Regions from separate parts of the Homo sapiens genome. Here regions 1 and 2 are each linked to region 3. The links are contacts of gene promoters, found by promoter capture Hi-C in blood cells and fetal thymus (Javierre and others, 2016). All regions are on one chromosome and are shown on one strand. Each heading gives the region's core, a stretch centred on a gene start or on the middle of the fragment in contact. The rest is flanking DNA. Distances are from core to core; before and after follow the strand shown.

What was found. Contacts are between HindIII fragments. The CHiCAGO score rates a contact against its expected background, and 5 or more counts as called.
Region 1: a fragment that was not itself captured here is called in contact with the fragment with the promoter of MTUS2-AS1 in region 3 in 1 of 17 cell types (neutrophils); the score reaches 7.6 in neutrophils.
Region 2: a contact is called between a fragment that was not itself captured here and the fragment with the promoter of MTUS2-AS1 in region 3, in 14 of 17 cell types (total B cells, monocytes, naive CD4 T cells and 11 more). The highest score is 14.2, in total B cells.

What each region holds. Positions count from the first base shown.
Region 1 is chr13:30,098,177-30,101,760 of GRCh38, reverse strand. No RefSeq gene overlaps it. Among named protein-coding and RNA genes, the nearest start is that of LINC00365, 8.9 kb to the left of the region's middle. The HindIII fragment of the contact is 1,313 bases long and covers 1,483-2,795 here.
Region 2 is chr13:30,117,177-30,120,573 of GRCh38, reverse strand. No RefSeq gene overlaps it. Among named protein-coding and RNA genes, the nearest start is that of LINC00365, 10 kb to the right of the region's middle. The HindIII fragment of the contact is 3,015 bases long and covers 142-3,156 here.
Region 3 is chr13:29,485,863-29,489,144 of GRCh38, reverse strand. MTUS2-AS1 (MTUS2 antisense RNA 1) reads left to right here and starts at 1,395. Exons shown (of 3, transcript NR_046378.1): 1 at 1,395-1,645. MTUS2 (microtubule associated scaffold protein 2) reads right to left here. Exons shown (of 16, transcript NM_001033602.4): 11 at 1,140-1,245. The HindIII fragment of the contact is 24,751 bases long and covers 1-3,282 here.

The sequences.
Region 1 (3,584 bases), core at 890-3,389, 610 kb before region 3:
CTGGAGAATCAGCCCTTCCTTGAGACCCCGACACTTTCTTAGCTTGGGCTCATTACTTCTCACGTTAACCTCTGCACCCTGCAAAGGCTGCCTCCCGGAGGTGGTGGGGGGTGGAGGGGGAAATCCTAGAGCCATAGTGCTTTTATTTTCCAATTTTTCAAGATTTGCATTCCTTTGATATATGAATACTAGACACATCTAGGTTTTTTAAAAAATTATTATCTTATTTTCAACAAACTGTAGTAACAGCTGCATAAAATTCTTTTTTGGAAAAAAGGAAGAAAACATACTCATGATTCTATGACCCGAGTACAACAATGGCTTCTTTTTATAATTTTTATTTTGCGCATAACCTCCCAGTCCTTAGTATATTAATTCAGTTCACCAAATTCTTTTTTTTTTTTTTTTTTTGATACGGAGTCTCGCTCTGTCACCCAGCCTGGATTGCAGTGGCATGATCTCGGCTCACTGCAACATCTGCCTTCCGGGTTCAAGTGATTCTCCCGCCTCAGCCTCCTGAGTAGCTGGGATTACAGGCATGCGCCACCATGCCCAGCTAATTTTTGTATTTTTGGTAGAGATGGGGTTTCACCATTTTGGTCAATGCCAAATTCTTATTAAGCGCTTACTACATGCCAAGTATTGTTCTCAGCATCAGGGATACAGAAGTGAACAAAACAGACAAAAGTCAAGAAGCATGCATATTTCAAATAGTTATAGTATAATATGCCATCTTCAATTAAATCTTTATGAATTTTAAATGTTATTTACATTTTTCTTAGCTACCATTTAGTGCTTGCATGTTACACTAATATGTTAAGAATATAATGTATTAAAACATTCATCAATGGGAAGCCACAGGCTCTTTGCAAATAGGGACTAGGAATGATGTTTTACCACTGCATCCCCAGGCCCTAGCACAATGCCTGATAGACAGAAGGTGCTTGGCAAATAATAGCTGGAATGGGTCCTTGTTTCTAGTTTGGGAATAGCAATAATGCTGCAGTAATCATCTTTGTATCTGGAGGTTTTGGCTTATGTTGAATTATTTCCCAAAGACAGATCTTTTCAAACTTTCCCACCAAAGTTCTAGTAGCAACAGAAAATGCACATTGGAGGGCTATAAATGGTGACTATAAAATATACATATATTGAAATATGATTAAATTGATGGGTGTGGAAAAATGTTTGTAACCCACAGCACTGAGTCCTTTCCACTCACTGCTATGTACCCCTGGGGAGACTAACATCCTGATTTGACCTGCACAGCAGGTGTGAGATACATGCCTGGGAGTGGGGCCTCTCGGCCAAAGGCTGTTCATCTTGATAGTTACTGCTGCGCATTACCATATTGCTTCCCTAACATTTTACAGCTATTTCTACGGCTACAGACATCATTGTGTGAGCAGACCAGTTTCAACTCAGTATTGCCAGAGCCGGTATTGTTAGGATTTGATTGTGTCTTCTAAAGATGTTGAAGCTTAAACCACCAGAACTTTTCAATGTGACCTTATTTGGAAATAAGGTTTTTGCAGATGACCAAAATAAGATGAGATCATTAGGGTGGGCCCTAATCCAATATGATTGTTGTCCTTACAAAAAAGGGGAAATTTGGACGCAGAGACAGGTGCACAGACAGGGAGGGCACTACTTGCAGATGAAGGCAGAGATGGGGTGAAGCATCCATAAACCGAGGAGCACAGAGACTGCCCGTGAAGCCCCAGAAGCTGGAGACAGAGGCCTGGGGCTGAGGTTGCCTCAGTCCTCAGAAGAAACCAGCCCTGCCCTCACCTTGATCTTGGGCTTCTGGCCTCCAGAATTGTGAGACAATAAATTTCTGTTGTTTAAGCCACTCAGTTTGTGGTATTTTGTTATGGAAGCCCTAGCAAACTAACAAAGATGTTTTATAATTTTTTTTTACAGTATAAAACTGTATATACTTTTTTTTACAACCTAGTAGGTATCAAATGACCCCTCAAGCCTGCTTTGTTTTTTATTTCATAACTTGAGAGAACAAACACTTTCCTGTGAAGTTTATTTTCTTATTGAACTTTTCCTTGACTGTGTCTTTCCTGGGGTGAGGTCTATCTCCACTAAGAATGTGCCTGGGTCAGTATGTGCTCATTAAATGAAGAATTAAGAATCCATTAATAGCCGGGCGCGGTGGCTCACGCCTGTAATCCCAGCACTTTGGGAGGCCGAGACGGGCGGATCACGAGGTCAGGTGATCGAGACCATCCTGGTTAACACGATGAAACCCCGTCTCTACTAAAAATACAAAAAAATTAGCCGGGTGTGGTGGCGGGTGCCTGTAGTCCCAGCTACTCCGGAGGCTGAGGCAGGAGAATGGCGTGAACCCGGGAGGCGGAGCTTGGAGTGAGCCAAGATCGCGCCACGGCACTCCAGCCTGGGTGACAGAGCGAGACTCCGTCTCAAAAAAAAAAAAAAAAAAAAAAAAAAAAAAAAAAAAAAAGAATCCATTAATAGCCTAATTGAATGTGATTCAATAAAATATGCCTGACCAAAGAAAGTACACTCTCTGATACTAACATTTCCTGTTAGCGCCCGTGATTACTCTGGATTTGCTGAAACGAGAGCCGGGAGACAGTTCTTCAGAGATCATTACTTTGCCCACACCATCGAGACAGATCTGTCCGGGAGTGTGAGCTCATTATGTGTCTGTCTTGCCCTAATAGATGGCACAATCCTTTAGGGAAGGCCGGGGAGGGATTTACTCACCTTCTTAATCCCCATCCCAGTAGTGCCTGGCACACAGTGGAGGCTCCATACAAGCTTGAGACGTGAGCATGGGATAGAAAATTGCATCTGCTTCTGAGAATGTGAAAGGGGCTGTCTGAAAACTGACCCTACATTATTAGTTCGGGTACTAATGGTAGCGGCCACAGTAGACAAACCTTCAAGTCTCAGGTTTAGATCTCACTCTCAAAGCCTGATGTGGGTTCGGTGGCTCTCTGCTTTCTTGCAGCTACTCCTCTGTAGAGGATGAGAGAGATGGAGGCCTCCAGGACAGGGAAAGAAAGAGATGGAGAAGCCACACTAGCTCTTAATGACCTCAGCCTGGGTGGAAGCCCGAAGCTGCTGCTCAGATTTCTTTGGCCACACTAGTCATGCAGCCCCAACCTAATGTCGGGGGAGGAGGGAGACAGGACAAGAGGTGGAGGAGTGTAGGTGAGTGTTGTCTCTGGCACTGTTATTCTGAACAGCAACTGGCCAGATGAGTGCATTTGTGCAGGTGTAAGGATGTTCACAATGGAAATCTCTTTAAAAGGAGCTTTTTTAAAAAATCAGAGTTTTCATCCAGAAGAGAAAAGTGAAAGATGGTTTGCTTTCGAAATGCCAGAAGTCTCTTGAGAAAACTGGGCCTGGGGTGTCTGGGCAGAGGCTAAGGGTTCCCAATGAGGGGATTGTTGGAGGTTGGGAGGAGTTGCCTGGTGGTGACCTTGCTTGGCAGTGAGGGACGGCTTCCAGTTCGGAATGTTAGGCTACACTTCCACACCTTCTCAGCACTCAGGCCGAGGATCCTGGATGCATTTCCAATTCCAATGTCTTTTGAAATCTGTCTT
Region 2 (3,397 bases), core at 400-2,899, 630 kb before region 3:
AGGTTCTTGCATATTTTAGATACTGTTTCCTAGTTATTTTTGACATTGCAAGTGTCTTCTCCCAATCTTTCATCTGTCTCATAACCTTGTTCTTCTTTGAATAGAACCCTTTGAGTGGGATGTGTTCAAATTCATTAAGCTTTTCCCTTATGCTTTGCACTTTTGAGGTTTTGTTTAAGAAGCATTTCCCCACCTCTAGGCCTCCAAGATCCTCTCTGGGACACTGCAGCTGCTTTCAAATTGAATGTGACAACAAGCACATGTTGTGTGCTTTGCACCTGCACAACCTCTTCCTCATGGTTGGACCTGCAACTTTAGCTTCAAGCCTGGCATCTGAGTCTGGGCCTCTTATCGATGAGGATACAAACCCTTCCCTACTGTTGTCCACACAATCCTCACCAGCATGTGTTATGCTTCAACCCCAGATATTCATGCCCCTCCTGCACCTCTCTGCTAATGTCACACTTTCTCCTTTTTCCAAAGTGCTTTTTGCTCTTCCCTTCACTAGATTTGGCCATCTTTCAAAGCCTGCTTCTTCAAAAACAAAACCAAAAACTGGTGAATCTAGCCTTCTTTGATCCCTTTGTTTCTACCCTTTTATCCATATTTTAAAAATCATGATTGGAACCTTATTTCCTAACGATTACATGTGTGCTCTGCTTTCTCCCTGGGGATCATCGTCCATCTTATATTTATTTTGCCCATGGCTCCTGGGCAGTGCTCTTAGGAGGCACCTAATAAATGCTCTCTCTCCAAATTCAAGCTGCTGCCAAAGACCGATTACTTAAGCCTCCAAAACCTTTTTAAAAATGCATTCCTTCCTCTCCATCTCCAAAGCCACATCCGTGCCTGGGTTTAATCATTGCACGCTCAGACTTTTACAACCTTGTGTGCCTTCTTTCTTCCTGTCTGCCTCGGCTCCAGTGAGAGCTGAGAACAGCCGCAAAATCACCCAGCCTCAGAATCTGGGTTCAAAGAATCTTACACAGCATTGAATCCACCCTGCCTCAGGGCTTGAATTCTCTTGACAATATTCACATTCCTAACAAATGGCTGCACAGTCTCTGCTTGAATACCTTCAGCCACGGTGGAGTCACTATCTTCTGAGGCTGTCCATTCCCTCTTTGTCCAGACAGTGCTTCCTTATTTCAAGCTGAAACTCGCCACCTTGCATCTTACAACTGGAATCCTAACTTTTCCTGTTGGTACCATTCAGAAAACTCTTAATGCCTCTTTTGGTAAATGTATCTCCCAAATTGTGGTGCTCAGAACCAAACACAGTATGATCAAGTGAAGAATGAAAGAGAACTCTCTTCTCTTACCCTGTGTTAGTTTCCTGGGGCTGCTATAACAAATTTACTGCAAACTTAGTGGCTTAAAACAACAGATATTGTCCAGGCACGGTGGCTCATGCCTGTAATCCCAGCACTTTGGGAGGCCCGGGGGGGCGGATCACGAGGTCAGGAGATTGAGACCATCCTGGCTAACATGGTGAAACCCTGTTTCTACTAAAAATACAAAAAATTAGCCTGGCCTGGTGGCATGTGCCTGTAGTCCCAGCTACTCGGGAGGCTGAGGCAGGAGAATCGCTTGAGCCTGGGAGGCAGAGGTTGCCGTGAGCTGAGATCGAACCACTGCAGTCCAGCCCGGGTGTCGGAGTGAGACTCTGTCTGAAAAAAACAAACAAACAAACAAACAAACAAAACAAACAAAAAAAACCCCAAAAACCAGATGTTTATTCTCTCACAGTTCTGGAGACCAGAATTCCAAAATCAGTATCACGGAGCTCAAACCAGGGCTATGCTCCCTCCAGAGGCTCCAGGAGAGAATCTGCTCCTTGCCTCTCCCAGCTTCCAGGGGCTGCCGACATTCGTTGACTGCATCACTCTGATCTTTGAGGCCAGCATCTGCAAAGCTCTCTCTGCTGTGTCTTTATATTTCCTTCTGTTTTGTGTGTGGTCAAATCACCCTCTGCCTCTCTGGTATAAGAATGCATGTGATTGTATTTAGGACCCAACTGGATAGTCTCCCCATCTTAACATCCTTAATTCAATCACACTTGCAAAGACCTCCTTCCCCTTCTCTCCATATAAAGGAACATTCCCCGTTTCCAGGGATTAGATATCTTCGGTTGAGAGGAGGGGATTTTTTTCACTCTACCACAAGGTTGTCTACCTTGAAAGACAACACTTCTGTAAGAGAGCCTAGCATCTCTTTAGTGTTTCTGGTGGTCACATCAAATTGTTGACTTTTATACTGAGCACATTGTCTTTACAGACCCCAATTCATTTGCATCGGTGCTTACTAAGCACATTGTCTTTACAGACTCTAATTCATTTGCATTGGTGCTTACTAAATATATTGTCTTTACAGACCCTAATTCATTTGCATTGGTGCTGTTGATTGCTTGATCCTGACAACAATATGTTATCTCAAATAAACGACACGTTGTTGGCTTTAAACTGCAGTTCCAATTCTGTTGATACCTTCTGATATGGTTTGGCTCTGTGTCCCCACCCAAATCTCATCTGGAATTGTAATCCCCATGTGTCAAGGGACGGACCTGGTTGGAGGTGGTTGGGGGTGATTGGATCATGGGGGCAGTTTCCCCCATGCTGTTCTTGTGATTGTGAGGGAGTTCTCACGAGATCTGGTTTAATAGTGACAGTTTCCTCTGCGTGTGCTATCTCTCTCGCCTGCCACCATGTAAGAAGTGCCCTGCTTCCCCTTCACCTTCCACCATGATTGTAAGTTTCCTGAGGCCTCTCCAGCCTTGTAGAACCGTGTGTCAATTAAACCTCTTCTGTTTACAAATTACCCAGTCTCAGGTATTCTTTATAGCAGTGTGAAAATGGACTAATACATTTTCTCAGACCTATCAAACAGGTGGGATTGCTGTCAACTTAATTAAATTCATAGTTTTAAAATTTGGTGAGTATTTGTTTAGTCTTATCAGTGATCATGGAGATGTTTAGTGGGCCTGACAGTGCAGAACCCTGTGGCACATCACCGGAAGCCTCTCTCTGGGTTCCATTGAACCTAGTCCCTTCCCCTTTTGTCCTATCTGACTCTTTTCATAGTCTCCATTGCTGATTTATGCAGGGCGTCTTGCACTGGATAGAAGTTGGGAGTTACGATTTTGTATTTTTTCAAGCTTTATTTCTTATATTCCAAGCCCTATTTTAAATTCATTCTTTTAGATCTACTCTGACTCTTTTAAACCTAGTTAAATCTGACACCGCAGCGAAGATAAGATTAGCGTCGTGGTTCTCAAACTTCAGAGTGCATTGGAATCACCTGAGGGTTTGCTAAAACACGGGTGCCAGGCCCCATCTTCAGAGTTTCAGATTCAGTAGTTCTGGGGCAAAACCTGAGAATTTGTATTCCTAAGTCCCCA
Region 3 (3,282 bases), core at 146-2,645:
CCTGGCTAATTTTTGTATTTTTGGTAGAGACGGGGTTTTGCCATGTTTGCCAGGCTGGTCTTGAACTCCTGACCTCAGGTGATCCACCTGCCTCAGCCTCCCAAAGTGCTGGGATTACGGGTGTGAGCCACGGCTCCCGGCCTTTAATACACACTTTAACAACCAGCTGACTGGGAGGGAAAAGTAAAGCGAGAGAAAGTTGAAAAATAAACTGTACATATTAATGTAAATGCATGTGAAAGTGTAAAATGCTGCCTCTTTCACAAAGGAAAATCTCACTGGAACTTAGTAATGATGCTGTTATGACCCACGTAAAACCCAAAGATAATTCAAAGTTACAAAAATGTAGAAAGAAAGATCTGGAGACTTAACGCACACCCACGGTGAATGTGGTCTATGAGTGTAAGCTCTGGATACCCCGATCCAACCAGATGCTGCAGTGGCCCGGAGAACATCATAAATATGAAGAAAGTGTATCCATGCCGGGGCTTCCATTTGTTTTTATAAGGCAATAAACATCATAAAGCCTAGCCGGGTGTGGTAGTGGGCACCTGTAATCCCAGCTACTCGGGCTGGAGGCTCCAGCTGGGGCTGGAGAATCGCTTGAACCCAGGAGGCAGAAGTTTCAGTGAGCTGAGATCGCACCACTGCACTCCAGCCTGGGCAACAAAGTGAGACTCTGTCTCAAAAAAAAAAAAAAAAAAAAAGAGGAAAAAAAAAAGTGCACGATTTCCATGCCTGCTTTAGACAGTGGCCCTCAAGTGTGGCTACACATTAGAATCCCCTAAGGAGTCTTAAGAAATCTTGATGTTTACACTGCACTATGGACCAAGGACATCAGAATCCCTGGGGTGGGACTGAGGCTGGCATTGGTCTTTTGTTACCGCTCCCCAGGGGACGGGGAATTCCAGTATTCATCAAGGTTGAGGATAACTGCATTGGAGGAAAGAAGCAGCTAACTACCTGGATCCTTAATTCCTATCTCTTCTTTTCCCAGGAGCCAACAGGAAAAAATGCACCAGGAGGGAAAGACAGGAAAGGAGGGACAAGAGAGGAAGGGGGGCTCCACACATCTGCAGCAGGAAAGGCTCGGATTGCACCACCCACCCCTGCCTGCTGCACACGAGGCTGGGAGCTACCTTGGACTTTGTGGTCGTGGTCATCCTGCAGGATTGTGATGGCAACTGTGTGGTTATTTTCCATCTCTAGGAGAGCAGCATCATGGCTGGCGGTGAGATCTTCCACCTGGAGGAGAGTCGCAGTTACTGGTTAGACAGAGAGCTGCTTGGAGAACAGAAGTGGAATTCCGTGAGTGGAAAAGGTCCGTGACCCAAAACATCAATGACAAGTCACAGCCTTGTGCCGAAGCAGGAGAGCTGGACTTTGGTGGTGATGTGGCAGCCCTCGGAATCACGGGGAGGTCACTGCCACAACCTGGCTCTTTGTAGGGGGGTCCAACTCCAGGCAGGGGATCACTGCCTGAGGTACCTCTTTAGAGTCCTGAGTGTGGCTCCTGGACCATCCCCTTCCCACTGCTTGTCCACGCGCTTGCACCGCTATGAGCGATGACGGCAAAGGAAAAGAAAAGCGTCCTCCCTACGAGGTGGTCTGTTTCCCAGTGGCAGGGGGAGCTACGGTACACAAGGTAAGTGGAGGGAACGAATACTTATTAGGCTGTCCGAGATAGGCTACTCTACTTAACCCTCAGAGCCACCTTATGAAGTATATCTTTTTATGCCCAATTGACAGATGTGGAAACTGAGGCTAAGAGAAATATGAAACGTTTTGCCCAAGGGCTAATAAATGGCAGAGCTAACAGTGAGACCCAGGTCTGTCTGACTCCAAAGGCGAGGCTCTTTCTAATGCACTGTTGTTTTGTGTTCACCTCCCCCAAGCAAGACTAGCAACGAACACCTTAGGATTCTCTCGCCAATACCAGGTGAGGCTGGCAGGTCTGTGTGTCTGTTTTTAAACATAAGGTTGCCCACCAGATTATAACTTGGACCTTCTGCTCAGGCAATGTGGTGCTCCTGGGAAGGGCTGCTGCCTCCCAGCTGCAGGAACACGTCTAGCAGTTTAATCGCAAGTAGTGCAGCCAGTCCAGTCCAGGATTCTTCATTTTCATGTTTCCTGACCCCCTCCCCTACCCCTCACCTGCCTGCCTACCAGGTTTACTGTTTTTGTTATTGTCATTGTGGCTGTTGTTTTAACTTCAAATGTATGACTTGCAGGAGTAATTGTCTAAAACGACCTCTCCCTATGATTGCAAATCTCTCCTGGATGCACTACAACGGTGTTTATCCAAATTCTCTGTCAGTGATCCACTGTAAAAATCACCATTGTACACAATATCACAGTGCACACACCCACACACAACCATACCCAAAACCAAAGTTTCACAAAAACAAAACTTCCCCTTCCATTTGGAAAAATCTGGTTTAAAAATGTTTCCTCTATTTTACTTTGTTTTACAAAACGCTAGTTAGAGGCCACTACATTTATTTCACAAGCTAATAATGCATCAAAACTTGGCATTTGAAAACCACTGAACTAGAAAATGTGCACTGGTCTTGAAGCTCCTTGGTGGCCCAGTTAAGAAGACATTGCTTCTAGCTGGTCATATTCAGCCACCTCTGGGCTCCCACATTTCTCTGGGGGAGAATTCACAGGCTAACCTTTGATCTGAATGGAGAAAGGGCTCTCCCCAAGAAAGGAAGCCTGACTGTGAAGTTGACACGTGAGGATATATTTGTTTTAAAAAAGGGTGGTTTCCCATTCTGCATACTATAATTTCATCAAACAATTATCCTGACTTCTCTCTCTTATGGTAAATGAGAACTTCATCCACTAAAACAAATATCACTGAGCAAAACCTACAGCAGACCCATGGCATTAGGAAAGCTGCATCGCAGTGTGAGAACGGACGTGGTGCACAATGGCTCACTCCCATTTAAAGGCCATTCTTGATCAAACCGTATTTACTTGAAGCTCAGAGCTATGAACCCACCAGGAGAAAGGCTGATTACAACAGTATTTAATTGTCCAATTCCTGTTTATAGGAGGTTTTCATGGAATCTTTGTCCAAAACCTTTCAATCTGTTGGAAAAATAAATCACTGGTTTAAAAAAGGAAATATCTTTTCTTTCTGCTCCATTACAGGTGTCACTTAGGCCATGGCACACTGTAAAAACACAGGCCCCCGCTTCCCCCGCCCCCACCCCACACACTGTTTGGAGGGTTGCTACACAGTTCAGGAGAGCAAAAAACCTTTCATCGGCCCTT